4 separate regions of the Homo sapiens genome follow, and all the other regions are linked to region 1. The links are contacts of gene promoters, found by promoter capture Hi-C in blood cells and fetal thymus (Javierre and others, 2016). All regions are on one chromosome and are shown on one strand. The core of a region is centred on a gene start or on the middle of the fragment in contact, and the rest is flanking DNA. Distances in the headings are between cores, read along the strand shown. Region 1 holds the start of TMEM252 (transmembrane protein 252). Region 2 overlaps PIP5K1B (phosphatidylinositol-4-phosphate 5-kinase type 1 beta). Region 3 overlaps PIP5K1B (phosphatidylinositol-4-phosphate 5-kinase type 1 beta). Region 4 overlaps PIP5K1B (phosphatidylinositol-4-phosphate 5-kinase type 1 beta).

What was found. Contacts are between HindIII fragments. The CHiCAGO score rates a contact against its expected background, and 5 or more counts as called.
Region 2: a contact is called between a fragment that was not itself captured here and the fragment with the promoter of TMEM252 in region 1, in 3 of 17 cell types (neutrophils, naive B cells and total B cells). The highest score is 8.3, in neutrophils.
Region 3: a fragment that was not itself captured here is called in contact with the fragment with the promoter of TMEM252 in region 1 in 3 of 17 cell types (neutrophils, naive B cells and endothelial precursors); the score reaches 6.8 in neutrophils.
Region 4: a fragment that was not itself captured here is called in contact with the fragment with the promoter of TMEM252 in region 1 in 2 of 17 cell types (neutrophils and total B cells); the score reaches 7.1 in neutrophils.

What each region holds. Positions count from the first base shown.
Region 1 is chr9:68,536,346-68,544,345 of GRCh38, reverse strand. TMEM252 (transmembrane protein 252) reads left to right here and starts at 3,463. Exons shown (of 2, transcript NM_153237.2): 1 at 3,463-3,809; 2 at 6,853-7,766. The coding sequence starts at 3,532. The coding sequence ends at 7,087. TMEM252-DT (TMEM252 divergent transcript) reads right to left here and starts at 3,321. Exons shown (of 5, transcript NR_187592.1): 1 at 3,116-3,321; 2 at 1,704-1,968. It overlaps LINC01506 (long intergenic non-protein coding RNA 1506), which reads left to right. Exons shown (of 4, transcript NR_109769.1): 4 at 743-805. The HindIII fragment of the contact is 3,743 bases long and covers 196-3,938 here.
Region 2 is chr9:68,845,799-68,853,798 of GRCh38, reverse strand. The region is part of intron 4 of PIP5K1B (phosphatidylinositol-4-phosphate 5-kinase type 1 beta); the gene reads right to left. Among named protein-coding and RNA genes, the nearest start is that of PABIR1, 70 kb to the right of the region's middle. RefSeq lists an enhancer at 5,803-5,982. The HindIII fragment of the contact is 8,244 bases long and covers 1-6,777 here.
Region 3 is chr9:68,822,722-68,830,721 of GRCh38, reverse strand. All of the region lies in intron 4 of PIP5K1B (phosphatidylinositol-4-phosphate 5-kinase type 1 beta), which reads right to left. Among named protein-coding and RNA genes, the nearest start is that of PABIR1, 47 kb to the right of the region's middle. RefSeq lists an enhancer at 4,706-5,207. The HindIII fragment of the contact is 3,268 bases long and covers 5,117-8,000 here.
Region 4 is chr9:68,798,837-68,806,836 of GRCh38, reverse strand. All of the region lies in intron 2 of PIP5K1B (phosphatidylinositol-4-phosphate 5-kinase type 1 beta), which reads right to left. Among named protein-coding and RNA genes, the nearest start is that of PABIR1, 23 kb to the right of the region's middle. The HindIII fragment of the contact is 8,045 bases long and covers 585-8,000 here.

The DNA.
Region 1 (8,000 bases), core at 2,214-4,713:
GTATGCACAACAATGACAACCTTCATAACTTCATAATAACACATGATAACTTAGCATCTTTTGCTTACAGTATTATGCTGATTTTGTGTTATTACTGTAAAGTACACTGGTGGCTTATATTTGCAGACTAGAACTGTCTCAAGATGCTATGATGCTCAATTGTGTTAACCAGTTTATAATCAATTAACCTAAGCTTGATGATGGCAACTGAATTTCCAGGTATACAAATAAATTTGAGGGTGAAGCATAGTTCCTAAAAACGATGCTGATCTCTGTTTTTATCTGCGGCATTGTATGTTATTTGACAATGCGAGGGAACACCCTATCTTTTCAACCTAATTTTTCTTATAATTAAAATTACCATTTTAAGCATTGGTAATTTCTTACCAGCGAGTAAAGTTTTAATTATTCATAATAAAATTTTATGATGGGCAAAAAGAGGAACTGAAGCAGAGTCACAGTTTAAAAAATTATAATTATTTAGTAATGTATATTTAATAATAAACATAAACATACAAAATAACCTCAACTTCACCAGTATTTCTCTCTCTTTTGCCTTTTAAATTTGTTTGTTTTTATTTGTACAGATTTAGGAGGTATTTCAGGTACAGTTTTATTACACAGATAGACTGTGTGGTGTTCATTAGTATTTCTTAGTCATTTTGAAGGAGAAATATGGTTCCCTGTGATACTTCATATTTCCATATTGATTTTTTTTCCTTTTCTCGTCTCCTTCCCACAGATGCTGCAAATATTCCCAGCCTTTTCCCCTTGATGCCCAAAATAAATTCCTCAAATACCCTGAGCCCAGGAACTATTCTTAATTTCACATAAATTTTATGTAAAGGGACTGAGTCCTTCCATCCCCCTGCCACTTCCTGGATTTTGCTCTTCCATACCTAATTTCTCACCAAAAACATACCACCACCACCATCACAACAACAACACTGCTGTGGAATGACAGGAGCCTCCTCAAAGGGCACTGGAGGGGAAGGAACTGTCTGACAAACTATAAGGCAATGGTTCTAGTGTACTTTATTGGCATGGAGGAGGAAAAAGTATAGAGAAACTTATTTACTCATGTGTTGATGTGATCACAAGAATGAGGCCTGACCTGTCATAATCCCCAGTCTAATTTCTGCCTCCATTTTTGTCTAAAACAGAGAAGCCCAACTGTCTGATGGGCAGTTCCGATTGAGAGTACTCTTCCTCCATCACCTGATTCTTAACATTATCCTGGGGCTTTACCATCTACCTGTTCCTGGGACCCAACTCCTAGTGCAGACCTTTCAGCTGGGGGTCCTGGGTCTTCCACAGATTTTTGGAATTGTAACAGCAATGATAATAACAATATTGGTGATGGTGATTATAGATAACCTTCACAGGGCACTCTCTGTGCCAGGTACTATGATAAATACTTAACATTGATTGTCTCTTCTGATTTTCAAAGTTCTAAGAGAATTTTTTTAGTTATCTACTGCTATCTAAAAAATGGCCACAAAACTTAGCATATTTTTAAAATATACTTTTTTTAAACTTTTGACCTCTTTTATTTGTTAAAATAGTGACATCCATAAACATGAAATGATTTGATCATAATGCATTCATTGATTATGGCTCTTGCCATCTTGTGGCATCCAGGACCCTGGCTGAAACGTTTTATCTCACAGTTTCTGTGGGTCAGGAATCCGAGTATGACTTACCTGGGTCCTCTACTTCAGGGTCACTGAGTCAAGGTGATGCTTGGGAGCAGAGTCATCTCAAGGCTCAGTGGGATGAGGATTTGATTGCAAGCTCACGTGGTCATTGACAGGATGCAGTTCCTCATGGGCTGACGGACTAAGGGCCTCAGTTCTTCAGTGACTGTTGGCCAGAACCTGCCCTCAATTCCTTGCCTCATGGGCCTCTCCAATATGGCAGCTTCCTTCTTCAAAGGGCGTAAGCCAAGAGGACAATAGAGAGAGTCTGCTAGAAAGATGAAAACCACAATCTTGTGTAGCCTCCACGGAAGTAACTTCCGATCACCGTTACCATATTCTATTGATTAGAATGAAGTCACTAGGTCCAGCCTACACTCAGGGGAGAGGATTACTTACACAAGGACATGAATATCAGGAGGTGGGATCCTTAGGGATCATCTTAGAAATATTCCATCTCACAGTTTGGGGAAGGAGGGAATAAGAGCTGTTTTAAGATTACAAAGACAATATCAAGACTAGAAGATCAAGGTAGTTCAAGGTCGAAATTGAAGCTAAGAAAGGTAAAGGCTAAGGGTTGGAATGGAGAAGTGCCTTATATAGTTTTTGATCCATAGTGTGTACCTCTCTAATATCCGTGTCTCCCAGCCCTAACATGAAGGTAGAGCTAAGGAGATGGTGAGTGTGAGACTAAAGGTTATATGAGGGATTATTAGGGCACGCCACAAAAAACTGCTGCTCTCATTGGGAAAGTAAATGGAAAATAATGGTAATGGAGTAGTGGAGTGGAACAGCAGCAAAGAGGAACTGAAGATAAGCTATCCTGAGTAAAAGCAACCCAGGGTTCCTATGGGAAGGAGACTTTTGGCAGAGACATGCCACATTATCAAATAAAAAAGGGCAGAGCCAGGGCATAAAGCACGTCTGAAATAAGCTATCCACAATCAAAGACAGTCAAGCTAAAGAAAACAAATTCCAGCCAGGAAACAGAAGGCTGGTTCTGGAAAGATTTTTTGAGGCAATGCTACATAGAGCAGAGGTGTGGAGGAGAGGACAGGGAACATTTTTAGCAGCATCCTCTAAAACGAATTCTATTTCATATGTACTTTATGAAAGGGGGAAAGATTGCAGGAATTACAGGCCCAAAATCCCCCCAAATTCCCGAGGCTCTGTCTATTATAGTCCTTTTCTCCAGCACTCTCCTTTCCCTCCCACTCAGGCTCTTTCGATCTTGTCAACAGAGCAGGAACCACGAAGTTCACACTCTGAACTTCTGTCTTGGAATTATGCCAGTATCATAGTGTGGGGGCAATAAGTGGGGATTCATTGAGGGAGGCAAGACAAACATGTTAACAGCCTTGAAGAAATGCCTTTTTAGTACAGAAAAAGGGAGAAGGAATCAGGAAGGGATTTCTTACCAAACCTCAAAGAAGATCGTTCTTTAAAGAGTGCTAACTTCTCCAGCTTTTAGTGGGGAATTGCCCTCCATGGGGATTAAGAGACCAGCGCCTTTTAATCAAAGGAGGGCTGTACGTTCAAATAACTGGGAACAGCTGAGTGTCCCACCCAACTCTGAAGAACAAAACAGCTACACGAAGCCACTCCTGCCTGCAGTATACAATGCTATGTTTTTTGGCTAATTCTCCAAGGATATTACACTTACTTTCAATGGTTAATGAATAGCTTCTAAGTGCCTGTTTCATTTAGTTGTCCAAAGGCCAGTGGGTCCCAGAGCATATAAAGCTGCAAGCTGGCTAATGAGCTCATTCTCTTGGAGCAAGCAGGGAAGCAGAGGAGCAGCAGGGTCAGGGTGCTGGGTTCCTAAGGTGCAAGGATGCAGAACAGAACTGGCCTCATTCTCTGTGCTCTTGCCCTCCTGATGGGTTTCCTGATGGTCTGCCTGGGGGCCTTCTTCATTTCCTGGGGCTCCATATTCGACTGTCAGGGGAGCCTGATTGCGGCCTATTTGCTTCTGCCTCTGGGGTTTGTGATCCTTCTGAGTGGAATTTTCTGGAGCAACTATCGCCAGGTGACTGAAAGCAAAGGAGTGTTGAGGCACATGCTCCGACAACACCTTGCTCATGGGGCCCTGCCCGTGGCCACAGTAGACAGGTACGTGCTGACAGGCAGAGGGACCAAGAAGGGCTGAGATGGGCTGAGTTGTGTAAGATCTGAGTAATTTCTGATCCTACTATGGAGCGACTTACATGTCCCATGGGCTGTCTGTCTAGAACCAAAGCTTTATTGTCAGGGAATTACTCTGGGGTTGTTATTAGGAAGAGTGGCGCCATCTTTGGGGAAAACCATGACGCAGGGGCAACTCATCTCAGAGAAACCCTACCACCACCCCCAGTGAAAACCCACCTAAGCCAATTTAGAAACCCAGGCTCTTTTGTTATATCATGGCAGCTGTCATTAATTAGTGGCAGGTGATGGTTAGTTACTTCCCATAACCTGGCTATGAGGTTCTAAGGAAAGCAAGTCCCAGACCAAATTCTGCCACACAACAAATGAAGAAGCAGGCATAAAATGAGTCCTGGAATCTCTGTGAGCTCAGAAAAGTCCCAGTTTACTGTCCTTTTAGGTGTTGTGATCTCACCTTGCATAAAACATTCCTTCAGGGGAAGGTGATAATATTCTAGAGGCAAGATTCATTCTTTCTCGCCATCTCATACATTAGGATAGTTATCATCAAAAAACAAAACCAAACAGCTAGTGTTGGTGAGGATGTCAATAAATTGGAACGCTGTGCATTGCTGGTGGGAATGTTAAAATGGTGCAACCACTGTGGAAAACAGTGTGGAGACTCCTCTATACATTAAATATTGAATTACTGTTTGATCTGGCAATTCTACATTCTGAGTTTATACACAAAGGAACTGAAAGCAGGGATTCAAATGGATGTTTGTACACCAATGCTTGTAGCAACATTTATTCATAATAGCCCAAATGTCCATCAACAGGTGAGTAGATAAACAAAATGTGGTATATACATGCAATGGAATATTAGCCTTAAAAAGGAAGGAAATCCTGGCACATGCCACCACTTGGATGAAGTTGAAAACATTATGCTAAGTGAAACAAGTCAGTTACAAAGGGCAAATATTGTATAATTCCACTTACATGAGTACTTAGCGTAGTCAAATTCACAGACACAGAAAGTAGAACAGTGGTCCCAGGGGCTGGTGGAAGGAGAGACTGGGGACCTATTGTTTAATGAGTAGAGAGTTTTAAGGTGATGGTTGTAGAGCAATATGAGTGTATTTAGTGCCACTGAGCTATACACTTAAAAACAGTAAATTTTATGTCATATATATTTTACCACAAGAAAAAAAAGATTCAGTTAATCTTATAGTCAGTATCAGGCAACAAGAAACCTCCTAATTCTTGGCTAGCCACAGGACCATTTAGGGATAACACCCTAGGCATCATTCTCAAGATACAGGCTACAAGACTATAATTATTTTGCCCTCTTCGTGCAAGAGTAGAAAGTATCTAAAATATTTTAGCTACTCCATGTATCTTGAATATAAGTAATCTTACCCATGAGCATCCACTTTTGGCATCCTTTATGCTAATTAATAAGATAATAATTATGAAAACCAAAACTTATTTCCAATGTTATACTAACCAGCAGAGTTTCTGGGTTTGATTAAAAATTAAGAGAAATGAAGTGATTGTAGAAGATGCCTCTAGAGTGATGATTTCTTTTTGTATAAATGTTAGAGGACTACCTCTAGAGTGTGAATTTCTGATAAATGTAACTGATTGCCTTTAGGATATAGCTTAAATTGACTAACACTGCATAATATTACAGTATACTGAAATGTTTGAAAGTAAATTATGGACATCGTAACACCCCCATTTTACTGCCTCTTCTCGCTGCATGTAATAAGATGCTTATCCCACGCAGAATGGCTGGCAAGTCAGCCTGGGAAGTCACATTTCTCCAAAGCATTTGCACTCAAAATGGATACCCAGGTTGAGATATCAAAGCAAATGGGTCTCCGATGATGGAATTCAGGGGACTGGGAATATGGATGGCAGTTGAAGGAGGGTGGGGTTGGGAGAGGTAGCTGGGATTTGGGGCAGGCAGCAGTCATCCTGGAACCTTTCACATCACTCCAGGGAACATCTCACCTTTCTGTGTAAAATGCCTTTACACATGTGCCCCGTGACTCAGCCTTGGCTATTCTGAGCGAAGGCTGAGATTTATGCCTTATAGTAGACAGCTTCTTCAGCTACTGGCTTTGGGCCTGGTAACATTTGGAATGGAGTTGTGGCTACAAATGGCAGTCCCTGTTCTGTTGTGGTTACACACCATAAACACTCCCTGTAGGCACTGGAAGGATCACTCTATAAATACACAACTCAGCCAAGCTCACCGGTCTCTCTTCCTCCCCTCTCCCCTTCCCCCAAATTCATTCATGATGGAGAAGCCAGGAGGATTTAGCAATTAGAAATGCCAGGCAAGATGACCAATGAGTACATCAGCCCCCGAATGAATGGCTGCTTTAGCCTACTGGCATAGAAAGGGCTACAACTGAAATCTGTGTAAAGTTGTCAGTTGATATCATTTGAGAAATGAATATGTTTGTATATTTTCTTTGAAACTAGCTACTGAGTCTCGAAAGGGTGTTAGGATAGAGACATGGCATCTGGTATAGTTCAGGGATCAGCACAGAGTTGGTTTTCATTCATTATTTTGTTGGCTGTGATGATCAGAGAAAGTGAGTGCAATTGAGGGGATGATGCCATGCGAGAAAGGGAGCAAGGATGTGGATGGACTAAGTACTCGGTAGAGAGAAGTTCCCTATCCAAAGCCCCCACCTCCTCTAATGTTGACAAGGATCTCACACTGAATGGCCCTGTTTTCATGAGTGAATGAGCAATAGAGAAGGAATAGCTTGGCATAACCCACTGGGAAAAAAATGTGACTAGAGGCAGGCATCCTGTGGCTGATAAAAAGGTTCTTTTGGAAGAGCAGCACATTTTTAAAAAACTGGTGATGCCAGGAAGAAGTACATCTGTTTCAAAAATCCATGTTTCTTAACAGTTTAGCTTCGCACAATTTGAGCTGAGAGAGGCAGCCGTCTGCCTCTTTGGCATTAATGCCTAAATAACGCACGCATGTTTATGCTGTTTTGTCCCCTAGGCCAGACTTTTACCCTCCAGCTTATGAAGAGAGCCTTGAGGTGGAAAAGCAGAGCTGTCCTGCAGAGAGAGAGGCCTCTGGCATTCCTCCACCTCTATATACAGAGACGGGCCTGGAATTCCAGGATGGAAATGACTCCCACCCAGAGGCCCCACCATCTTATAGAGAGTCCATAGCCGGCCTGGTGGTGACAGCAATCTCAGAGGACGCCCAGAGGCGAGGCCAAGAGTGCTGAGGCAGAGAAAGCTCTCCAGCACTCATGATGCCACCACTGTGGGGAGCAGCTACTGATAATAAAGGCAAACGAGGGACTGTGGGAGGAAAAGCCACACCAGGGACCCCACAAGAGAGCTTGGGGAGGGGATGACAGCCCTGAATTCCAGACATAACTGGCCATGCCAGGGCAGGGCAGGCCAGGGGCCCTGGAAGGGTGTGGCCAACACCAAGCAGACATTTCAGAGCATTCACACTAATCTTAACCCCGGCTGGCCTTGGGTCCCCAAAGGTGTCACTCTGAGAGCTCTGCTTACAGAGATTCTTTCTGCTGTCACTCAATTTCCCTCCCATCACCTCAACTCCAGCCAGGGAGGAATAGATGCTGGTTGTCAGGACAGCCACATGCCTTCCTGTTCTATATCACCTAGTAATCTCAAAGCGAAGGTTTGTTGTTTAATTTATTGATTGTTCAGCCTTTTGTTTTGTTAGCTTGTTTCCTAGTTACCTCCAGCTGACCATACTACCAGAGTGAGGCAGTACTTCACATCCTGGGAGATATGCCCTCGGAACCCATGAATGTTATTTTGTATTATTTTATTTTCATGATATGTATTTTTTCTATGTAAAAGGAAAATGACTGTAATATTTGCCTTCAAGATGGTTCAAACACAAAATATTAAATGAGCTGTTTCTTAAAAGAGGTCCTTAAACAAATAGACATGATAAGAATGCTTATAGACCCAAATGGAATAGACAGAATACTTAATTCATAATACATGGAATTCCGGGGTGTAGGGTGGAATTTGTACTGGCCACAGATGGTATTAATATACCACTTGATATAAATCTTATAAAGGTTAAAAATATTTGTATGTAATTCAAAGAATCCCCATATAAATCTCTAGAATTTGAAAGATAAGAAACTCTAATGA
Region 2 (8,000 bases), core at 1,406-3,905, 310 kb before region 1:
CTCATGGGGTCTGCAGTTCTCCCCCGCAAATGGCTATTGCATTCCTCTGCCTGGTAGTTTCCTGTTGTTTTTCCAGGTCTTCACATAGACAGGACTGGGGTGACCCCACATTAGCTCTCTCTAGAGCTCAGTGTCCTCCAATGGTCACATATCATTTGCCTGGAACACCCACCCTCCCCAAGGAGCCTTTTTTGGTTTTGCCGTCATCAGAGCAGCTGACCAAAACTTCTCTTCTGAAAACTTTCTGATTTTTCAGAAAAATACTATAGTCTATTGCATCCTCCAGGCTCCAGGGAGCACACAGCACACTCTTCAGTGGTCTCACAGAAGCCCCCTTCTCTAGGCTTGAGATGGTGGGCAGACCCTCTCCCAAGCCTCTCCCTTATGTGGGTTACTCATGACATATCAACAACTCTTTCCAAATTTCCTCTTCCATATCTCACAGTGGGCCAGCCAGGCCCTTTCATAGAGTGGGGTGATCATTCAACTGGTCTTAGACCACCTCCTTCCCCAAGTTCTACATGGCAGGCTGGCACCTGAACTTGGAATATGATTATGCTTCCATCCCTTCAGCTTGTATTGTGTGGGACTGATTCACAGGTCCCGCTGATCACATGGGGTTTGGGCCAGCTGCATCAATGGATTGCTCACTGTGTTCCATTCCACCTGCCATGTGACTGCCAGACTCATCATTCCAAGGCTCTCTTTCTGTTTTTCCTTTTAAAACCACCTCCCAGCATAGAAGCCTCCACTAATTTTTAACCATCTGTAGAAATGAATCCAAATTCTTTGCTTGGCCTTCAAAACTTTCTACAATTGAGTTCCTGTTAATGCTAAATGCTGTAATAAATCAATCCTCAAATACCAAGTCCTATAAAAAAAAACACACCCCTAAAATTCAATGTCTTGATTCAAGAGAAGTTTATTTTTTGATAGGACCTAGTCCACAGTGAGTGTCTCTGAATGATAATCCACTTGCCTTTGTCAGGTGATTCAGAGAGCCTGGCTCCTGCATCCCTGTAGCTCTAGTAGCCCCTAGGATCGTAAAATCCCCCCAGTCCAGCTGGCTGATAGGAGAAGTGAGAGAATATCCACTTCTTCCTACCTTTGCCAGGAAGTGACAGTGCAGGATATCTACCCCAGGCCTGTCCCTCAACCCTCCTTCACCCTGCTCTGTGCCCTGGGTTACCATCAGTAAGGCCACATCAAAGGGCTCCCTCTGGCTTCTAGTTGGGTTTGGCCAATGGGACACCATGGCAGAAGACTGGACGGAGGTTTGAGAGTGAGGTCAAAGTGTTTACTTCCATCCCTCCCTCCTTAAGGGTTTGACTCGGTCTGGTTGTGTCCTTCTAAAGGTTACAGCTCCTCTCTGTGGATCTTTCCAGATGATTCCTACTCTGGGATCTAGAAATAGTGCCATTCTCTTACCTTTTTATGGCTTGGGGGGCGGTGTGGGGGAGGCGGGTAACAAGGTACATTTTGCCTCAAGACACTGAACTACCCCTTATGGTTTCCCTGCATTTCTCCCACATCTTTGCAAACAGAGTCTTTCTTTTTTTCTTTTTTAAAATTTTACTTTGAGTTCTAGGATACATGTACAGAACATGCAGGTTTGTTACATAGGTATACATGTGCCATGGTGGTTTGCTACACCTATCAACCTGTCATCTAGGTTTTAAGCCCTGCATGCATTTGGTATTTGTCCTAATGCTCTCCCTCCCCTTGCCCCTCACCTGCCGATAGGCCCCGGTGTGTGATGTTCCCCTCCCTGTGTCCATGTGTTCTCATAAAAAGAGTCCCTCTTAAATTCCTTCCAAATTATCCGATTTAAGTGTGTCATCCTTTAACTGCCCAGGTCCTACAGACAATGACTCATTCATAGCACACCAGTAAGGATAAGCCACACGGCCTGGCTCAGATGCAAGGAGGGCCGGCTCTGCAGCTGCTTTCCAGACCCAGCTGTGCTTTGGAAGAGGGGGCACAAACTCTGGTGGACCAGTTACTGTTTTGGCCACAAGCCAGAGATCCTCTTGCCTCTATGCAAATCCACCACTTTAGCCAAACTGTCCCACTTAAACTTGCCTTGTGATTTCTGGTCTCTGCATCCACTGATCTCTGGGCTTTCCATGCTGTCCTTTTCCATTCTCTTTTCAGTATCCTACCCACTCTTCCAGGTCCAGCTTTACCAATCATGCCTCTACACAGCCTCTGTTCATTACAGGAGCTAAAACCGGTTACTCCCGTCTCCCAGTATGAATCATTTCATACGTGACTTTTGGGGTATTCTGTTATTTTCATGATTGGCAACGACATTTCTGATATAATTTCTGCAGCATCTGCATTTTCAAAAATAAGAATACTGGAGTTCCATTAAATGATGGCCTTCCCTAGGCTGGCACGAACACTCCATGTGGTGAATTTGCCTTATAACAAGGTTATTCTGACACACTAGGCACTAAACAACCTTGGAAGAAGCCCAACACAGATCCACTTTATATTTAACTTTCCCTTTTTATCAAGCAGCCTTTTAACAAGATCCCAGTATATCCATCTGTTTGATAGAAGATTTGCTTCTCAACATTTAATAGGAGAGGCAGAATAAAGAAAAAGTGTTTCATGGTTTCTTTGAAATGATCTCCACCTTAATTTGATTGGCAGCAAAGCATGTTCCCTCATTGGAAAGGAAGAGCATGTTAAGTAAACACTCCTCATTAACAGAAAAATACTGTACTCTTAAAGTATTCATAATACAGCAGCATCAAATTATGGACACTTAATTGCCCTAAAAAGAGACAGGCCATCAACTGCAGATGAAATTCTTGATTTAGGATAGAGCTGTTATATTTGCTGTATATATTTGCTGTTATATTAGTCTTTCAGAAATATTACACTTTAAACTGAGATATTCATTATAAATGTAACACAGTATAATATCCTTAATACTATTCTTACACACTAGGGAAGAATATTTCATTTGTCTGTGTATTCAAATAAAAATTGTTATTTATTTGATATAAATATCAATTTAGATTCAATAGATTAAAATAAGACAGGATTGACTTTTCATCCTAGAATCAACCAAAATAAAATTTGACACAATCTTAGCATGTTTGATTTCCTGGTAGAGGACTTGTTATTTGAAAGGTTATATATTAGTTCAGTGCTAAGCACTGTTTTGGGGGAAATAACACAATGCTTATAGCGGATGTTACTGGTTGTCTGCAGCATCTATTCTCTTCTTACTTAGCAGTTGTTCTTCAAGAGGCTTGACTTTACCCTCAGGGACATCTGGCTGTGTCTGGAGACAATTTGGGTTGTCACACCTGGGCAGTGCTCCTAGCACTGATTGGACAGAGGCCAGGGATGTGCTAAACATCCTACAATGCACAGAACAGCCCCCCTCAACAAACAATTATCTAGCCCAAATGTCAATAGTGCTGAGGTTCGGAAACCTTGTGATATAGTAATGGATTTCAACTGGGTATTTTGCCTGGTTCTCTTTTAGGTAGGTATCATCACATTACTATTTTCTGGCTATTGAGCTGGGACAGGAAATGATGTGTCCGACTCCTAGGTCACGTCCTCACCAGGAAGGGGTGTGCTGTGTACAGATGTGATGGACAGAGATGAAGTAGGCTTCTTTAATCGCTTTTGTTAGCTATACATTGAGAATGGTAGAAAAACAAGATAGAAACCTAGGCCCCTGAATACCCTGCAGAGGCAAGTAAATGACCTCTGCACTTCATGCGTGTGAGAAATAAACTTCAACTTAGCTTAAGCCATGGTCATTCTGGTTCTTGTTTTGATCTATATTCCAAGCGCATATACCCTATGGACCTATAACCAAATGCTTTTTACCTGAAAAACAATATAGGCTCAAAAATATATCAGACTGAAAGATAAATATCCATAAAGATACCATTGCTCAATTTAGAAAGGTAAATTGTAGCCCATGCTCATTGAGAAAAAGTTAAAAAAAAACTCTTAACTACAGAAAGTAAAACACCAATGTGCCCTTCTCACACTTATTCTTGAGGGTTAACTACTGTCAACTGTTTAGTGTGTGTTTGGGGCTTTTTTCTCTACACACTGAAAAATACATGTCTGTATACACGCATTACAGATAAAAATGAGGCTGGGCGTGGTGGCGCATGCCTTTAATCCCAGCACTTTGGGAGGCCGAGGTGGGTGGATTGCTTGAGCTCAGGAGTTCAAGACCAGCCTGGGCAATGTGGTGAAACCCTGTCTTTACAAAAAATGCAAAAATTAGCTGGGTATGGTGGCTCTTGCCTGGGGAGGCTGAGGCAGGAGGATTACTTAAGCCTGGGAGGCGGAGGTTGCAGTGAGCTGAGATCGTACCGCTGCACTTCAGCCTGGGTTGACAGAGGGAGACCCTATCTCAAAAATAAAAATAAAATTAAAATGAGACTGTACTATTCATACTTTGTTTCAGCTTGCTTTTTTTTCCCCCAAATACTATGCTTCCATCTATACAGATCTCATTATTTGTAATGGTTACATAGATTTTCATAGCTTGTATGTACCACAATTGTTTTAACTACTCTCTTATTGATAGACACTAGGGTTCTTGTTCTCTCTCTTTAATAGAAAATAATGTGGTGATGAATATCCTTGTTCATATACTCCTATACATTTATTTCTTGAATATTTCTTCAGCTTTGATTCCTAGAAGAACTGATGAGTTAAAAAAATGCACATTTATACTTTTGGTAGGTACTGCCAAGATGTCTTCTACGGATTTCATCAATTTACATACTCACCAACAGAGTGCTGTGTAAGAATGATTCTATCCTCATACTCCTACCAATACCAGTATCATCAATATTGTTAACTTTTGCCAGTCTTGTTGTTTTAGTCTCCATTTTCCTGATCACTAGTGAGACAGATTCTCTTTTTGTGTATTAATTGTATTATTTGCTCTTAACTTTATAATTTTCATTTTTTTATGGTTATACACTAATAGTCATGTTCAATTATTTTACAGCAATTAAAGTTAAACTGCATTTGTAAAATAGTCCCCATGGAAGCTCTAAAACAATAAAATTTCCATGCCTTCTCTTAAGAGTTTTGATTATTAAAATTGTATGCTCTCACAGGGCAGAAACTATAGCTATTCTTTATCATCTACCAAATAAGGTTCTTGTTTATTCCTTTTTATAATAAAATTTTACACTTCTCTAGCCTTTTTCATTTAAAATTTAAAATAGTCCTTTAGAAGAATTTACACCCATATTCACAATTAAATATATACTTTTGCAATAACAAATAAGGAGTGTGTTCCCTAATTGGCTCACTGGGATGCTGGACTCTTGGAGGAACATGTAACAGCAGCTTGTGGGTGAAGTGGGGGTTGAGAAACACACCTAGGCAGAAAGATATGGAGAAACTGCAATTGTGCCTGCCTACCTATGTCTTTTAAAGTCTTACACTGTAGGGCCAGAAAGGACCTGTAAGATGGGCTTCCCTGAAGTAAGAAATGATCAGGTATCTTTAGGTGGAATCTTTTCACATTACGGTAGTACCTTTCTTGCCATAACTCCACTCACTCTTCTTTTGATGGGGAATGAATGGAATATGTTCATGGCTCTTTTCACCATTCTATTAGCTAGCTGGCCTTTCCTGAGTACTTACTGTAGTCCAAGCCTTGTACAAAATTACTTACTCTTGATTTACATAAGATGAAACTGGCCCAGAAAGACAAATCAGCTTATCCAAGGCTACACAGTGAGGAGGTGGCAAAGCTGGCCCTTGAACCTAGATCTGTTAACCCTGAGTCCATGCTCATAACTGTCATACCTGATGTCATAACCCCACATAGAATTACAGAAATAGCAGCTTTGTAGTTTTGTGTTTCAGTTTAGCACAGGCCCAGCTAAAATATGTGGCTACTCCAACTGCTTGTTTATTGGCTACATGGGCCTGTTTCCAAGCAATACCAAGCCAGCTTCTACTCTTTTAATTTGCATTCTCCTTTGACTGGCAAATCCATGGTTAACTCTTTGCCCATAGGTGTGGAGATGGGTCAGGGCCAAAGTCAAACCTCTGCTCTACAGAGTTCTCCAGGGGCATATCACAGCCCTCTGCCATGTCAGGTGCACAGACACATGGGCACTAATTGAAAAGGTGTCCTATATGGGGCCAAAGTGGAAAGGTTTCACTATAACATTGGGAATCTTTAGAATAGGAATTAGAATCTAGGCTGTTTACCAGCTTTAAGTAAAACAAGATTAGGACAACCAACCTCCCCTCAAAGAAACCCTCAGCAACCTCCACCCTCTCATCCATCCCTTCTGGCCTAATGTTATCCCCACCTACACACACACACACACACACACACACACACACACACACACACACACACACAAAACCACTGCTGTTGTTGCTGATTTAGGGAATGAGAGGGGATGATTATAACTCCCTTAAAAAGGTGGAAACCAGCATGGAAACTTAATATACTCTGGAAATATCAGTGGCATACAAGATCTGGTTGTTATCTTTTACCGCCTATCCCAAGAGACTGCAAACCTTTCTTTTTCATCCCACCAACTGACCTCTTCAGTTTTAAAAAGAAGAATGTATTTAGCTAAGGAGGGGAAATAAACCAGCATCTCTCAGTGCTCTGATAGTGTTCACTGGGCCACTCGTCACTATTCTGCAGTTAATTAATTCAAGAGATAAATCTCTGACTTCATAAGACAGGAGGACTTAATTGCTATCCATTTACCCAAACAAAAAGAAAAAAATAAAAATGAAGCTTCTTATTGGGGTAGGGATCACTGGATGTTTTTTCCCACTTGTGCCTCAATTTTGGTCCTGCAGTTTTTTTCTTGATATATAAAAGACATAATGAGGACTATAATAAATGGTAGTGAAACAGGCCTAGAAGAAATCAAAATAGTTTTTCTCTTCCTTTCAAATCTCTACCAGTTTAATTCTTCCTCCTCTTAATTTTCATAGTAAGCTGTAAGGGTTGATGATAGGGAATTATACATACATGTATTATATCACAGATGTCATTATCTATGTTAGAGGAATAAATAACATTTACGAAATAGAAAAGCAAAGCTCAGGGATCCAAGGTTTAGAAGGAAGAAAGGGGCAGGGTAACTGTTGCTAAATGAGATGGAATCATACATAGAACAAAAACACTTTCAAATTGACGATGCAGTGATTTTATAGACTGACAGTGAGAGGCATCACTTGCTGTGACTTGCTGTTTACCAATCTCAAATCATTTTTCCATATGCCAGCCCTAAACACTCCTTATAGAATAGATCCAGCAGATGTAAGGACTAAGGAATGACATCAAGAAGGGATGAGGAAAATGGCTTCTCTCTAAATTCATAAGAATTTAGAGGCCAAGCTGTCTTTTCTGAAAGAGTGGGGGTGAAGACATCCCTCCTTTAATAATTGAGTTATTTTAAATGACTGGCATAGCAATTGTTTACAGTACCATGTGCTTTGTAGTTCTGGCCATATTTCTGGAAAACCACAGAAGAACAATGCCAAGAGAATTTTAAACAAAACAATCTGAAACATTAATATCAGTATTTACCTAAAGGGGCTTTAAAATTTAGAATGTAGGTGTTTCCTGGGTAGAAAAAGACTGGTTTTGAGTATTTGAAGACTCTAATGCAATGACTTCCATTGAGATATTTTAATACACATATATTTTATTGTGTTAAGTGCTTATTTTGTGTAAGATTAAGTTATTTGCAACATTTATTTCTCACCATAACCCGTATATTACCCCCACAGATGAGGAAACTTAAATTCAGATGGATTGTACATATGAAAGATAAATCCTAGATCATGTTTTACAAAAAGACTATTAAATGGAACTCTTCCTAAATGTGTACATAGACTAACATACACAAAGTTCATTTACATGTTTTTCAAGAATCTCCATAACCTGGGTAAAGCACTGAAGGTGGGGGATAATTTTGAATATTATGCATACTTTCAAGTTGGGATTAAGC
Region 3 (8,000 bases), core at 5,501-8,000, 280 kb before region 1:
ACCAAACTCAACAACACTGTGGGGTTTTTTTGCCAGTGAAGGAAGCCGTGCAGGAAGTTTTGGGTGTAGAATACGATTTCCTATAGTTCGCGTTTTAGAGACAGCAATGTGACGTTTATTGGTATTAGGGACCAAAACACAGAGAGTCTACAGTTAATCAGAAGGCAGAAGTACAACAAACCTGGGTAACTTAACATATGGAGGCCCCCTCCAAAGCGAATGCTGAAAGAGGTCACTTCAGAATGAACCATTCAGGGCAACAGGCTAATAATGAGAGGGTTGGCTCGCTCAGCTGTTTTAATCTGAAGCTGCCAATTCTTTTTGCTTAATTATCTGTAATGTCCTGCTTAAAACTCATAAAGGCAGACTTGCAATCACCTGCTTTAGTACTTAGTGAGGAAGGAGACAGAAGCACAAGTGTTTGGAGGGGTGATCTGACAGGGCGGGGGGTGCATGGTAACGTGATATGATTACACATGCTTCTAAGTGTAACGGAATTATTTAAAAAATGTTCCCTCTGTAAATGATGCAGCTCACCTCCTTGCTGCTTAATTTTTAAAAACACAACAGCAGTTTACTATTTTTTTTTTTGAGATGGGGTCTTGCTCTGTTGCCTAGGCTTCAGCACAGCGGCACCCGTTTACTAGTAAGAGCACATCTTTCTCTCTGATTTTAAACACCTGTTGCTGTTGGGACGCATACAGCATCATGCCCCAGTACTGTCAGCTCACCTCCCATGCCCAGGCTTGACTGCAGCTACCCCCAGGAGACTAAGTAACCCTTCTCCCCGGGAATCCAGTGCTCCGTCCCCATAGAACTAATCTGGAAATCAGAGGCTCAGGGACTGCATTCTTGCTCATCAAAACAGTGACTTCACTCATTAGTATGCTACTTTTCCCAGTATTTGCTCAAGTCTGTTAAACTGTTTGATCCTCACAGCACTATAAGCCAGCTTGGGTAGATATTAATTAATTACATTTTATCAATGAGAAAAATTAAGGTTCACAACAACTAGGAAAAATGCCTACAGTTATCAACCAGTATCTGGAAGAGCTGGACTCACATCCGCCCTCCTCTTAAAAAGGGTAGTTTGATTTGAACAAGGCTTCTCAGCCTTGGCACTAACAACGTTTAGATAATTCTTTGTTTTGGGGGTCCATCCTCTGCATCATAAGACGCAGCATCCTTGACCTCTATCTCCTAGAAGCCAGTAGCGCCAGCCCTCACTTTGTAACAACTAAAAATATGTCCAGATATTGCCAAATCTTCCTGGGGGGTGGAGGCAGAATTGCTGGTTGAGAACCAGCAGGTTAGGGTATTTTGGATTAAGGTGGATTAGGAATCACACTTAGAATACCAAAGGGTCATTCATCCTAGAGACCAGCATAGCTGCTATTCATGACAACTGCTGCTTAGCACAAACGAGTTTGCTTGTTTTATGGAAGTGGTGGCTTTCCAGAATCTGAAGGAAAAGAAGAATGGTCAGGACAGAGAACACACTCCAGCCCCTCTTCCCTCCAAAATCCTGAAACGTTATTTGTTCAATTTTTGAACTGGTATTACCTTCACATAGTTCAAAATTAAATATGCATAGAAAGATGTATTATTTACTTATTTTTTGAGCCAGAGTCTTGCTCTGTCGCCCAGGCTGGAGTGCAGTGGCGTGATCTCGGCTCACTGCAACCTCTGCCTTCCAGGCTCAAGTGATTCTCCTGTGTCAGCCTCCCAAGCAGCTGGGATCACAGGCTTGCACCACCGTGCCCAGCAAATTTTTGTATTTTTAGTAGAGATGGGGTTTCACCATGTTGGCCAGGCTGGTCTCCAACTTCTGACCTCAGGTGATCCACCCATCTCGGCCTCCCGAAGTGCTGGGATTACAGGCATAATCCACCGTGCCCAGCCATAGAGCCACCGAGCCACCATGCTCGGCCATAGAAAGGTTTACACAGAGAAGTTTCCCACCAACTAAGGACCCTACTACCCGGTTCTCCCTGGAGACAGACAGTGTTACCAGCTGTCAGAAACATTTTATAAAAGACCCTGTATTTAAAGAAATACTTCCTTTTAGATCAAAGTGTCTCTGAGCTATTATCTTACTCATGGTGAAAAAGCAATAAAAGGCATCTTTCCTTGGAATGTGGTCACGGTCAGGTACTATTTCCTCCTTCCTCACCGCTGCCTGCCTCCACTGATAGGAAACTGTCTCAGACACTGGAATGAAGCAACAACCAAGGTCTTCAAAGATAAAACAAAGTGAAAAAAACTGGGCATTTGGGTCAAGGATCCTGTAGGTGTCCTGGTCTGGTCAGTTTCCCAATGGAGCTTTCTGAATGCTGTGAGCACGTGTGCCCGTCACAGTGAAAACCAGCTAAAAAGACTCTGCACACTGTAGGCGAGGCCTCGGTGCCACAGGCAGGTGGCCTCTGACCCCACGGCAGCCTGCGGTCATCAAAACCAGAATCTCCCAGTGGAGGCCTATTGTGGGCAGGCCCAGAAAGGCAGGAGAAACAGAAGAGGAAGGGGTGAGGGGCCTAGAACGACAACCTCAGGGTGAAGAGGTGAGACAAGAAGAAAGGCAAATGGCAGTGCACGTTTCCCATGACAGTCAAGGCCCTGGTGTTGGGAAACACTGACCCAGTCCAACGGACAAATGACAACATGGGACATCATGTGACTGGAGCTTCTAATCATCTTCCTAACAAAGAACTGCAAGGTAACCTGGCATATGTCACTGAACCACCCTGACATCTGTTTGTTTTGGAGAGGTGGGGCTGGGTCATTTCTTCACATATAAAACAGACAAAACTTGAATGTCTAGCATCAGTATTTGACTTGCATTGAGACCATCCTCTTTCAAGTAAACTCGTGCCCTGCGCCTCCTGCTTCCTTTTAGGTCTCTTGCCTTTTTAAACAACAAACAAACAAAATCCCAAAATAACACAATACTCTTTCCCAAACTTCCCTAGTTCCACCAATGGCAGAAAACTTCTGGTAGTCGCACTGATTGGAAATGTAATTTTCTTTTCAAAAATATTCCCCACATCTTTTCCTACTCAACTTTGCACCCAACTTTGTTGCTCAACTAACACAAAAGCCTTCCCGTGTCATCTCCCTCAACCCTGTACAACTTGTGCTCTGCCACTGGCTTTGCACAGGCCTTTCATTTGTCACTAGCCCCTACAACAATGTTACAGTACATCACCGCCTGAAAACTGCACTCCCCAGCATGGCAGTCATCAGCCACGTGTGCTTATTTAAGTTTAAATTTAACTAAAATTAAGATTAAAAATTACAGTTCTCAGACACACTGGCCACATTTCAAATGCCCTATAGCCACACATAGCTTGTGGCTACCGCATTGGTGCAAATTATAGAACATTTCCATCATTGCGGGAAGTTCCGTTGAACAACACTGGCCTAGAACATAAAATCCAAACACCTCAAACCAGCACCCAAGGGTAGCTGTCATTTAGAGCCAGCCCATACTTCCAAAACTGCCTACTACTTTCCCCAGACACCACCACTTAGCTTTGTCCAGGCCAGCCTCTCCTGTAATGCCAACAAATCATGCTCCTCCCTGTTTCTGTGCCTGTGCTCATTGGACTCCCTGACATCAAGACAAACACGTAGGTAAATCAGAATGCACAGTCACTTAAAAAGTGGAATTTTTGGCCGGGCCCAGTGGCTCACACCTGTAATCCCAGCACTCTGGGAGGCCGAGGTGGGTCGATTGCCTGAGCTCAGGAGTTCGAGATCAGTCTGGGCAACATGGTGAAACCCCATCTCAACTAAAATACAAAAAATTAGCCAGGCGTGGCGGCATGCACCTGTAGTCCCAGCTACTCGGGAGGCTGAGGCAGGAGAATCGCTTGAACCCGGGAGGCAGAGGTTGCAGTGAGCCAAGATTGTGCCACTGCACTCCAGCCTGGGCGATAGAGTGAGACTCCATCTCAAAAAAATAAAAATAAAAGAGAAATACCACTTGTCTTGGCACTTACTCAACACCGATTTGGGTCAAGATTTAATTTTTTCATGTGGGTCCCTCTTTTTTCTCCCAAATAAGTTGTAAGGTCAGGGGAGGCAGAGACAAGTTCTTACACTTCTTTTGCATCCTCCTTTTTTCTTCTCACTTTTTTACACCAACAGGGAGGTCAGAGGTTGTAAACTGGCCACTGCCTACGGGACAGATAGGGCCTGCAGGCAAACTGTTTTGCCCAGAGTGTATTTTTAAAAACATTTGAATTAGTTGCTGTTATTTAAAAATGGCAGATTTCATATCAAAATCTTCATCTCTCTTTTCTTGAAAAACATCAGAGTATCTGGCAACCCTGGGCGAGCATTCATTCATAGCTCTGTTGGCTAGAGCTGACTGCCTGCTGCCCCTTTTAAGGAAGGCGTGGGTTCTGTTTACCATGGTCCCCTCGTTTTCTCACTCCCTTCTTTGCTGCCTGGCCCCAGTAGGCTTCTGCATTTACAACTCTTGCGGAAAGCACTCAATAAATTAACTGATAATGGAAATACTCCACTCTGTAAATATAGCCAGGCAGCCTTTAATGCCTGTCTTAATGGGCAACTTGTTTGTTTTATGCAGCTAAAATCAAACTTCTTATTTTAGCCATTAGCTGAAGACATTATTAACCTCACGGACCAATGTTAGCTGTTCTTCCCGGGCTTGCCAAGAACTGAGAATGGATTCAGGAAATGGTCAACTGCAAGACAAAAGGCAGCCAGCCTCAATAATCACATGCAAATAGCTGAGACGCAAAGTGTAAAGTTGTCCCATGAACACTGAGTGTTCCCTAATAACACGTGGAAATCATAGCACTCATGACGCTGAATGTTACTGGCAGCTGCCCAGTAAATCTGGGGCTCCATACAGAAAGCCTAAACCTGCTGCTTAATTCTAACAACATTGGTTTCTTCCCTTTTGAACTCCTCATTATAGACTACTGTGTTCTAAAACTGTTTTCATGTCTTGCCTCTCCCACTCCACTGTGAGCTACTTATAAACTCCTGTGGTATATTTCTCACTCCTAGCATAAAGGACCAGGGGCCTTAACCTGGGATCCATGGACTGGCTTCAGTCAATGCAAAAACACAATGGGTCATCAAAGCTTCTTAGTAAATCTGTGCATACCTTATGATCAGGGCTTCAGGACTGGGAAAGAAATTTAAGGTATTTGTAAAGGGAATAAGATGTATGGTGGCCTTGACAACACTTGTGTAGTCTGTTTGCTATCATTTACAATTTTTTTGTCATTTGCATTTGCAAAGCACTGCTTTTATGCTTTCATTAAGGTCATGGGTGAACATGGTAAGCTACCCAGGGCCAACTCATGCATCATGCTGGTGGAAACCGAGTGAACAGGGAGCAAAATTGCCAGTTTTCGAGACCATCAGTCCAACCAGATACAAACACAATAAACATAATATTTAACCCATACTTATCCACCTTGTCTGAAAGGAGACTAGCGAATCTTTTAGACACCTTTAAATCAAGACTCATTAAATTTGAACATACTCTTTATGAGTAATTTAATGACTCTCTCAAAATAGGAAATGCAGTTAGTTTGAAATAAACTACATCTTTATGAATTTCTCCAGGTTTGTAAAAGATATGTTTCTTCTCTAAATATGTATAAACCATATGTTTAATAATAATGCTCAAATTATACTGGGGAATAATGTCTCACTTATAATCTGGTTTCCAGAATGTACTCTTCCTCATTTTTGAAAATAAGAATAATATTTGCTTATGTCCTGTTTTCTGACAATTTTCCCATTCTGAAATTCATTTAAAGCTCACATTCAGAGGTTTTCCTATTCTAGCTTTAAGTTCTTTCATCTGGGAAATGGTTTATCTGGACCTGGAGATAAACACATTTGCAATAGCTAACTCCTAAGTCCACCATGAACACCTTCTCTAGTTTGAAGATCAGAGAACTAAACCGAATAATTCAGCTGAGCTTTTACCTGCCAGTAAAACAACACTCTCTCTAAGCGATTCCTTCTTCTTGCTATTCATATCAATACCATATTTATTAAGGGCTGAAGTTCTAAGTGCTGTGCTGGTCTTCTTGGTGCTTTTTAAGAGAGGCTACGTACATCTCCTTCCATTGCTTATACTTTTTAAAACCAGAAATCATTAATAAGATCCTGATATTATTACACATAAAAAATTGTTCATTAAAAAAAATTTCTGGTCCCCTTAGGTTTTCTGTGTCTTTCCTTATTTCTCCTACCATAGAATTTGATTTTTAGTTTTTACAACCTAAAAAACATTGCTGAGTTAAATATCCTACTGGAGACATTAATCATAGAATTACCTATACTAATTATTGAAAACCTGCTTGACTAAATAAATTCTTGGGCAGGGTACACTTAGCAAACTCTGAGATGTCATGGTCACATTTTTTCTATAACTTTTGCAGCGACAAAGGATCTCCTGTGAGTCAGAATTTGGTCAAGAATTTCAGTGCATCTTGATGCTGATTGAGAATACCACCTGAAACTGATCTGAAGTAATAACAGGCTAGCAACGTAATCATCTCTGTGTTGGTCCATGCTTGAATGAATGTACACGGAATCTTGGGTAAACGAGACAGGATTTGGTTTTTCACTTGTGTCTAAAAATAAATAATAGTGTATTGTTGCCTCTGGCCCAATGTACAAATTTTATAAAATATACTGCGGCACTTCTGAGCTCTTGAATCTTTACCCAACTCTTTTCCAACCACACCATCACTTTGAATGACAACCTCCCAGTTTGTATTTCAAGGTTTGGCTGAGTGGAAAAATCAGATAAAGAAGATATGCCAGGAAAAAGGGCACATTCTCCCATATGAAAATGGAATAGAAAATACATCATGCTAGTTCCATGACCTGAATATGTGGTCAGAGCCCATAGCTCATGTACTTTATGACTAAACGTCTTGCAGGCTGTCCATCAAAGTATAAAAGGAAAAATTAAGAAATAATAAACCTTCAATACACAAACCTCCTACTCTTAAGAGGGCAAAATAGCAAGAACTTTGAAAAGCTAAAATGTATAGTCAATTTATAATCAGGAGTAGAGGTGCTTGGGAACATATTTTACCCAGTAACGTGTTTGAACATTAGCTTGGTAGCTGGGAGTCGAGAATTTATCAAAGACTGGTAAGTTAAGATACATTAGGAAGTCTGGAAAAAGACTTTTTGTGAAATGGGCTGAAGACATAAAATCTGAGCGGCTTAGAAAAGGTGGGGAAGAGGAGCATCTCACATTTTAAAAGTTTTAAAATACAAAGGTAGGAAATGTTTTAAATGTTGGTGGAAAGTAGTGAGTCCATTAAAGGATTCATATATTATACACAGAACACTGCATGCCCTCAGGAGCCTTCTTCTTAGGAATAAGAAGGGTCTTCAAACAACTCTCTTCACTCAATATTCTATATTATGGTGAATTGACCCCCAAAGATTCCCATGCTCTAATCCTTGGGACCTGTGAATATGTCACCTTCTAAGGCAAAAATGAATTCAAGTTGCAGAGGAAATTAACGTTGCTAATCAGCTGACCTTTTAGATAAAGAATATTAATTTTTATTAATATTTTCCCATATTTCTGTGAGCCTAGGAGGGCTCAATGCAATCACACAGGCCCTTTAAAGTGTCAGAGTGATACAGCCTGGGAAAGACGCCACCGGCCATTGCTGGCTTTGAAGATGGCAGGGAGCCATGACACAGGGCACGCAGGGAGCCTCTAGAAGCCGGAAAAGACAAGGAAGTGGACTCTCCCCTGGAGTGTCCAGGAAGGAATACAGCTCTGCAAACACATGGATCTCAGCCCAGGGAGACCCATGTCAGGCTTCTGACTCACTGAACTATAAGATAATGCATGTATGTTGTCTAAGCCACTAAATTTGCAGTAATTAGTTATAGCAGCAACTGGAAACTAAGATAGTAACTTACAACTGCTTGGGAGAAGGAAAGGCCTTTGATAATATTCACGTGCCAAACAGCAA
Region 4 (8,000 bases), core at 3,358-5,857, 260 kb before region 1:
GCAGCTGCTTTCAACAAACCAACAATTTCCCTAGAGAATCAAAACTAAAAGGAGTTCAGAGGAGAGGGAGGTGACTGTGGTCTAGAGTCAGGGTCTACAGTCAGCATTCTTAAGTCATGGATGAGAGATGTCAGAGCAGGAGGGAAGGAGCAGGCGTGGAGAAGGGAAGGGCCATGGCATGTCTGGTAAGAGAAAATTATCCTGTGCTGATACGATGGGAATTCAAGGGAAGAGGATGATTAGCGGCGGGCTAGATGGCCCTGGGAGACAGCCATGAATGTGACAAATTAAGGAACATCTGCTGAAGGCTTCTGAATAGGAGGCCAATAAAAATTGTAAAAATAATATTGCTTAAAAGAAGGCGAGATAAAATGGGAAGCGAAAACCAGATTTGAAGGGTGACTCTAGAGCCTGCTGCAATAGTCATGAGGATGAAGACCTGAAAGACCAGGGCAGAGCTGCAGGCTGAAAGGAAGGAGCCCCACAAGATGTTTACAACAAAAACACTGTCAGAACCTGAGCAAAGCCAGGGACTGAGGAGTGCAGGGTTAGCAGTTAAGTCAAGATGGCAAGGCGTGCAAGCTTCACTAACCACTGAAGATCATGGAGTTCTCAGAGCAGCTTTCTCCCTGCCTGGTCATAACCTGTGCCACCTTTATCCCAGCTGCAGAAGGAACCAAGGAGGGACACTTGAACTAGGCTAAACCAGCAGATTATCCAAAGCAAGAACTTTATCTACAACACAGGGACTGAGTGAGTCAAGTGACTTTTCAGGTCAGGTAGGGTCAGGGCTAGCCAAGGTCCTGGGAGAGTGAAACTAGGAAAGCTGCAATTTAATCAGACTGTGGAAAGATGCACAGAGAAGGCCCTGTGTTTCCAGACAGACAGAGATACTGCTACAGCCTGACAACTCTCCAGCTGTGTAATGTCTAGCCATACTCCCTAGCAAGCAACTGGGTTCTGGGAGCGCCCCTGTATCTTCACAATCCATTCAGCATTCACTTGAGTTCTTTGCAGGAGTTTCTAGTCCTTACAGCCAAACTCTCCTTGACTAAGACAGAAAATGTTTTATCAATAAGCTGCCATAAGCCTAGCAGAGGTCATTGCTCCAATCTCCACTTGTCACTACCCCCTCTGGAGAGCCACACCCTAATGTGACAGGTGATGACAGCTCGGTGGTCACAGGAAGAGGCTCTGGTGTCACAACACTGCCCAGCTTCACTATTGACTCTGCCGCACACCAGCTGTATGGAATCCTCAAGTGGCTTAACCTCTGTGTGCCTCAGTTTCCTCATCTGAAAAATAAAACAAATAACAGTACCTCTCTCACAGGGCAGTCGTTAGTAATGTCCAAGATTTACAGCACTCCAATGTTCCTGGCACACCATACGCAGTCCCTGCACTCAGCATTGTGATGACTATTTTTAGCTACTCTCACCAGAAGGAGCACCACAGGACAGAGTGGACCCTCATTGCCCTGCTCCCAACCTTCTCGTGGCTACAGAAGAAACTCCAGGTATTCGAGGCCTTGCAAAGTGTGATGCTCACCCTCATCTCTGGCCGCTCCTCCACCATTCTTCCCACCCTTGAGGTGAAGGAGCCTCTACACACAGGGCCCCCTGCGCCCCACATGCTCCCTCTCAAGTGTCAGAGGGCTCCTTCCTCTGCAAATGTGGCAGGTGCTCTGACAGCCTCTTGCCTGCACCAACAGTGTTTGTTCTACTTGAGCTAGCCTCTCCAGGGCTGTGCCAATCTCAAATGCCTCCCCCTGAGGACTTCCTTGAAGAATGCAATGCTTCATCTGCTGTGCCCTCACAGCCCTCAGCCAACGCACTTGCATTCTGGACCAGTTAGGCGTTTAGGTGACCCTGGACTGCATGTGCTCTCTGTCCTATAAATAATCATTATCACAGCCAATGCATATGAAACACTCCTTTGTGCCAGGCACTCAGACAAGTACTACATGAATTAACTCATTTAATTCTTCCAACAACTCCAAGTAACAGGTTTCTGTTATTATCCTCATTGCTTGGTTGCAGAGGAAAACGAAGGCAACAGAGAGGTTAAATAACTTGCCTCTAGCTGGGTGAAGTGGTGCACACCTGTAGTTCCAGTGCTTTGGGAGGTCAAGGCTGGAGGATCACTTGAACTCAGGAGTTCAAAGCTGCAGTGAGCTATGATCATGCCACTGCGCTCCATCCTGAATGACAGAGTGAGACCCTGTCTCTCAAAAAAAAAAAAAAAAAAATTGAAAACTAGAAGAATAAAATATATAAATAACTTGCCCAAGGTCATACAGTTGGAGCCAGGATGGGAATGCACAGACTGTCCAGTTCCAAAGTGGCTCTTAACCTCTCTGCTAATACTGCCTATTTGAAGACTTCGCTTATTTCCTTAAGTCCGCTACCTGCCCCCTGCCTCCCCGAGGAATGGTGGGCCCTTTGTTTCCTGCCTTCCCACCTGTAAACTATGAACGCCCATACCCATCTTTGTCCCTCTCTGATGCACAGCTAAGGTATGTTCTCCGCTCCCCACAACACATACCTGTCTGGAGCTTTATCAGATACTCTTTTTCCTGAATCGACTACTTTCCCTCATCTGGCTCTTCACCCTGAGAATATGAGCATGTGAACTCCTTCCTGAGACCCTTCCTCCTGGCTCCTGAAACCTCTTCTTCACCTTGATGCTCCCTCCTGGCTGCGGCATCATCCCACTCCCTTTATGCTCAAAGTCAACTCCTCAAAAGACTGTTGTCCATTCTCCATCTTCACCCCCACCCCTCCACACGCTCATGGAGGCACAGCAATCCGGCCTCCTGGACAACCACCCCAAGTTCAAAGGTGGATTCCTCATTGCTTCACCCAAGCAGTCATTTCATTCATGACCTTCCTCAACTTCTCTGAAGCACGGACACTGAATACCTTGCACACAGCAGGCTCTCAAATCTGTGTTGAACTGATGAATGACCAGTCCTCCTTCACTGACTGTCCCTCTTCCCTTGGCTACCTGAAGTGGCCAACACTGTCATTTGCCTACCCCAAATACCCCAAATCCCTTTTCCCCATGTGCTTTATTAACAGGATCATAGCTTTATTTAGGAAGGTAATGTTCCCAGTTAAACAAACAAGAAACTTGTATTCCTAGACATTCTAGCAGTGAGGTATCGACAGACATTTACATCCAGAGAGACTTGTTAGAGGCAAACTCAGTTGGGAAGTGCATGTCTGCCACTTGGCATTTGCTCTTTGCCCTTTCTTCCACGGATGATGAACTTGGGAGACAGCATGAGCAGGGCCTCCATATATGCCTGGTTTTCCCTTCCTGGTATGCCTGGCTTTCCTCCACTTCTCTGAACACTTTTTCTTGGGCTCTCTGGCAGGCTTCCACCTTTTTTGACTGTTTCTTAAATGTTCCTGTTCCTCATGGTCTTCCGAATTCTTTTCTTCTCACTGCTTCTGAATAATCTCTTCCATCACCAATGGGTTTAACTGCAACCTACTTGTGATGACTCCCAAATAACTCTTTGAGCCCAGACTTTCTTGAGCTCAAGATTTATATTCCCAGCTGCTTTTAGGGTTTCTATAGTATCTCGCAGGCACTATAAATTTAAAATGCTTCAATTGCAGTTTATCGTATCCCATCCAGCTCAAAGAATGCCACCATTAGCACCCAGTTGTCCAAGCCTGAAATCAAGGGGCCATCCCAATTCCTCCTCAATACATCCTCCCCACAACCTATCAATTAAGCTCTTTCCAATCAATCTCCTTGATGTTCCTTGACTCTGAGTCTTTCTCTGCATTTTCCCTTATACAAACTTAATTGAGATCTCATCATTTCTAACACAGATTGCTGCCCTAGCCTCCTAATTAGTCTGCCTTGTTGGTGAACAACATTGCTAAAGGGACTTTTCTATATGCAAATCTGTCTAACCACTCTCCTTCTTTAAAATCCTGCAAGGGCTTCCCACTGCTTCAGGGCAAACCTCAGAGGTTTTGGCACAGCGTATGACCTCTCACGACTCTCATATCTCCTCCCAGCTCACCCCAACACAACTGCAGCCACATGGGATGACTGTCAGCTCTCAGAATGCGTGGTTCTCTTTGCATCTTACCTTTGCACACACTTCAATGCCTGGCACATCCCCTTCACTCTCAGGCTGAGTGCTCTTTGTCCTCCAAGATGCAGCTCAGGCATGACTTCCTCGTATGAATCCTCTCCTACCCCTCCTGAGGCAAAGGGCAGCGTTTCTTCTCTGTACTCACGTGCTCTGGGACTAACTCTATTGTGACACTTACTGACTATATTGTAATCCTCAGTTTAAATTTCTTCTCTTTCTAGTACACTATTGGCCCCTTGAGGGCAATAACCTCTGTCTATCCATCCATCCATCCATCCATCCATCCATTTTCTATCCATCACAGTGCCTGGCACATGAATAGACACAAAAATGGAAAGTTTAATGCATATATGCGTATTTCTGTTGTTCTTAGATAAGCTACCTTGAGTTCAGAAAGGATGTCTCATTTTTTAAGTCCTTACACATTAAGTAGATGCTTCATAAATGTTTTCTTCCTCCTTTTAGCACTGGATAATCAAGGAATGTTCAAGCATCAAACTGACATGAAAAACTAAGGATGGCTATCAATTTAGTATTTCGAATACTTCCATAAGATATCTTTTCTTGCTATTCCAGGTTCATTCCATAAAGTTTCAGTTTCTTTGAATAGTTTCTCTTTTGGAATAACTTTAAAAATCATTATAAATGCAACTCATATCTATTTTAGAAATATGAGAAAGAGACAGAAAATCACAAAGAAAATAAAAGGAGCCATCAATCTTCTCATCCAGAGATGCCCATTATTTATCTGGTGGGGTATCTTTTTCTAAGCTGTTTTCTGTGATGGTAACACACTGACTTCACTCTCTATCGCCTGTTTCCAGACTGGCACAAGGGCCGAAATGCGCTGCTAATATGCTGGGGCAAACCCCCATCATTCATTCCATCAGAACTCAACCTAACAGTCAAAAGACAAAACAAGGAGAGTCCGTGTGGTGGCCACTCTAAATGATGAAGGCTTCTTAACCTGAGATTGGGCTTGTTTTGGAGCATGCTGTTCTTTGGCTTCAGACCATACTCAGGTGTGTCTTCCGGACTTTCCCTTATCTCTTTGATGAGATTCCGTCCAGCCTGACCAAATGTACTTCTTTCAAGTGGTATATTATATTCACAGGAGTAACTCTGTAATCTTATTATTAAACTCTGTCAATCCCTGTGGTTTTGAAAGTACGAAAAAAATCCCAAATCTTTAGTCTTGGAATATATTTCAAATCTCTCCCACCTGGCAGGGTGCCTCAACACCCACCACTGTGCGGATGTCTCAGTATTACATGTACCCTCTTTTCTCAGCATCAAGGAACAGCATAAACCTATACTTCTTAAATTCAGCCCAACTGAAAGAAATCCAGGAAGTATTTAGCATTGTTGTGATTATTAGCAATCCAATATGAAAAAAAAAATGTGCCCTTTTCCTAGTGTTAATACCGCTAAGTATCCCTGGAATTCTAAGTTCTCTCATGCCCGGGCTTGTTATTTTCCCTTGGATAGCCCTCCTTTGAGAATTTTCAGCAGAATATAAAGGACTATATCCTGGCTCAAGCAAAGCACCCTCTCCATCCCCTCCTCACACACACAAATTAAATTTGCCTTATCAGAAGGAAGGCAGGGGCATCTGGGAACAGAGCAATGGGTTAAAATATCTATGGACCAATCCACCTGTGTGGTAGTAGCAGGTGCTGACTCAGCGAGGCCTGAGAGCCCTAGGAATGGACATGGAAGCCTGCAACTTGGATCGACACTTTTCCTATCTGGGATTTCTATATGAGGGGGAGAAGAGATGCAAGCACAGGGAGACAACTGCTCAAAGTATTCCAACACTTGGAGTGCTTACAGCTCAAGTTCCTCAAGAACTTAACAGTCATGGAGAATTTGGAGCAAGGGTACCCAAATATGACCTTGGGAAGCCTAGGACACCTTTGTTTGAATGACAAAAAGGCAACCTTTCTGATTTAGCAAATGCCTATGCCCTTGCAGAAAAATGAGAAAAAGATACCACCTCTGGGCAGACTTAACCCTGCAAAGAAAAAGGCCCCTTTTCAACAGCAGATACAGAGCGTGGCAGCTGAGAACAGGTTGGAAATCAGCCTCCATCTACCCTTCAGTGGAGCCCCATTGTGCACTGCACTAACTATAGAATCACACATAAAGGCCCGACATCCTCTTGACATAGATGCTATCCATGGATGACTGACTGGGATGGGTCTTCAAGGCCTTCTTACATCAGTAAGAAGGAAATGGTGAGGTCTGTTGAACCCAAGGTACTTCAAGCAACCCATGTTTCTTCCCCATGCCACAGAAAACAAGGAAAACTGGATTACTCATCCATTTAACAAACACCTGTGCATGTGCAGGCCCTGTCTAGATGCTGGATGAAAAGCATGGTACAAACCTCAAGGACTATTGCATTCGAAAGGCAAGGTCTACCCCCAACATTTGCAGGGCCTAAGCAAGAGAAAAAATGGTAGCCACATACCACATGCTGTGTGTGAGGCTTCTCCTCACTCACTGGCCCAAACCGGGCACCTGCTGCCCACAGGTATCTCCACCAGCCCCTTCACCATCACTATTTTCAGTTTCTCTAAGGAACCTGATATGGGAAGGCCAGGCTCATGTATGTTTTCTTTGGAAAAATATCTATTTAAGTCCTTTGCCTATTTTTCAATCAGGCTCCTTATTTTTTCTTTTGCTATTGGGTTGTAGGGGTTCCCTATATATTTTGAATATTAACCCCTTTTCAGATGTATAGTTTGTTAATATTTTCTCTCATTCCATGAGTTGCCTTTTCATTCTGTTGATCATTTCCTTTGCTCTTGAGTTTGATATTGTCCTAGTCCTATCTGTCCACTTTTGCTCTTGTTGCCTGTGATTTTGGTGTCATATCCAGGAAATTGCTGCCAAAACCAATGTCATGAAGCCTTTCCCCTAGCTTTTCTCCTAGGAGTTTCACAGTTTCAGGTATTATTTTTAAGTCATTCATCCATCTTGAGTTGGTTTTGCGTCTGATATAAAAGTCCAGTTTCATTCTTTCACATATGGATATCCAGTTTTCCCAACACCCTTTGTTGAAGGTACTATCTTTCCCTATTGTGTATTCTTAGCACTCCCGTTGAAGATCAATTGATTGTATATGTATGGGTTCATTTCTGGGGCCTCTATTCTATTTTATTGGCCTATATGTCTATTTTTATGAGAGTGCCATACTCTTTTGTTTACTGTGGCTTGTAATATATTTTGAAGTTAGGAAGTGTGATGCCTTCAACTTTGCTCTTCTTTCTCAAGATTGCTTTGGCTATTTGGGCTCCTTTGTGGTTCCATATGAATTTAATTTTTTTCTATTTCTATAAAACAATACCATTGGGATTTTGATAAGAAGTGCAACTAAGAGGACTTCATTCTTTTGCACAACTGTTGTGTACCCTAAAATTAGTCACTGATGAACAGAAGGTATGTACTACAGATAGAGAGTTTCAGTATTTTCAAGTATACTCCAAATGCTTTTTAAAATTACAGCCAACATATTGATGGAAGGTGTGCTTATCTCAAATATAATTTTAGCTGCATCCAGATTTCCCTAGCTTTGAACTTATATAGCCAACTGACAGCTCCCTTTAGAATCCTCAAAAACATATTAGAGATAGGTCCTAAACAAAACTCAAACACCTCTTTATTTCTGCCCCTGCAAACTTTCCCATCTCATTCAATGTCACTTCATTCCCATTTTTACTCAAGTCAGTAAACTTCATTTACAAAAATCAGTCATTCTTGATTTCTCTCTCTTTCTCCTTAGTATGCCCTCTCCCAAATCTTGCTGATTTCTCAAAACCATCTTTTGTTCTCCATCCTAATTGCTACACCTCAGCCCAGTCACCAATATCTCTTGCCT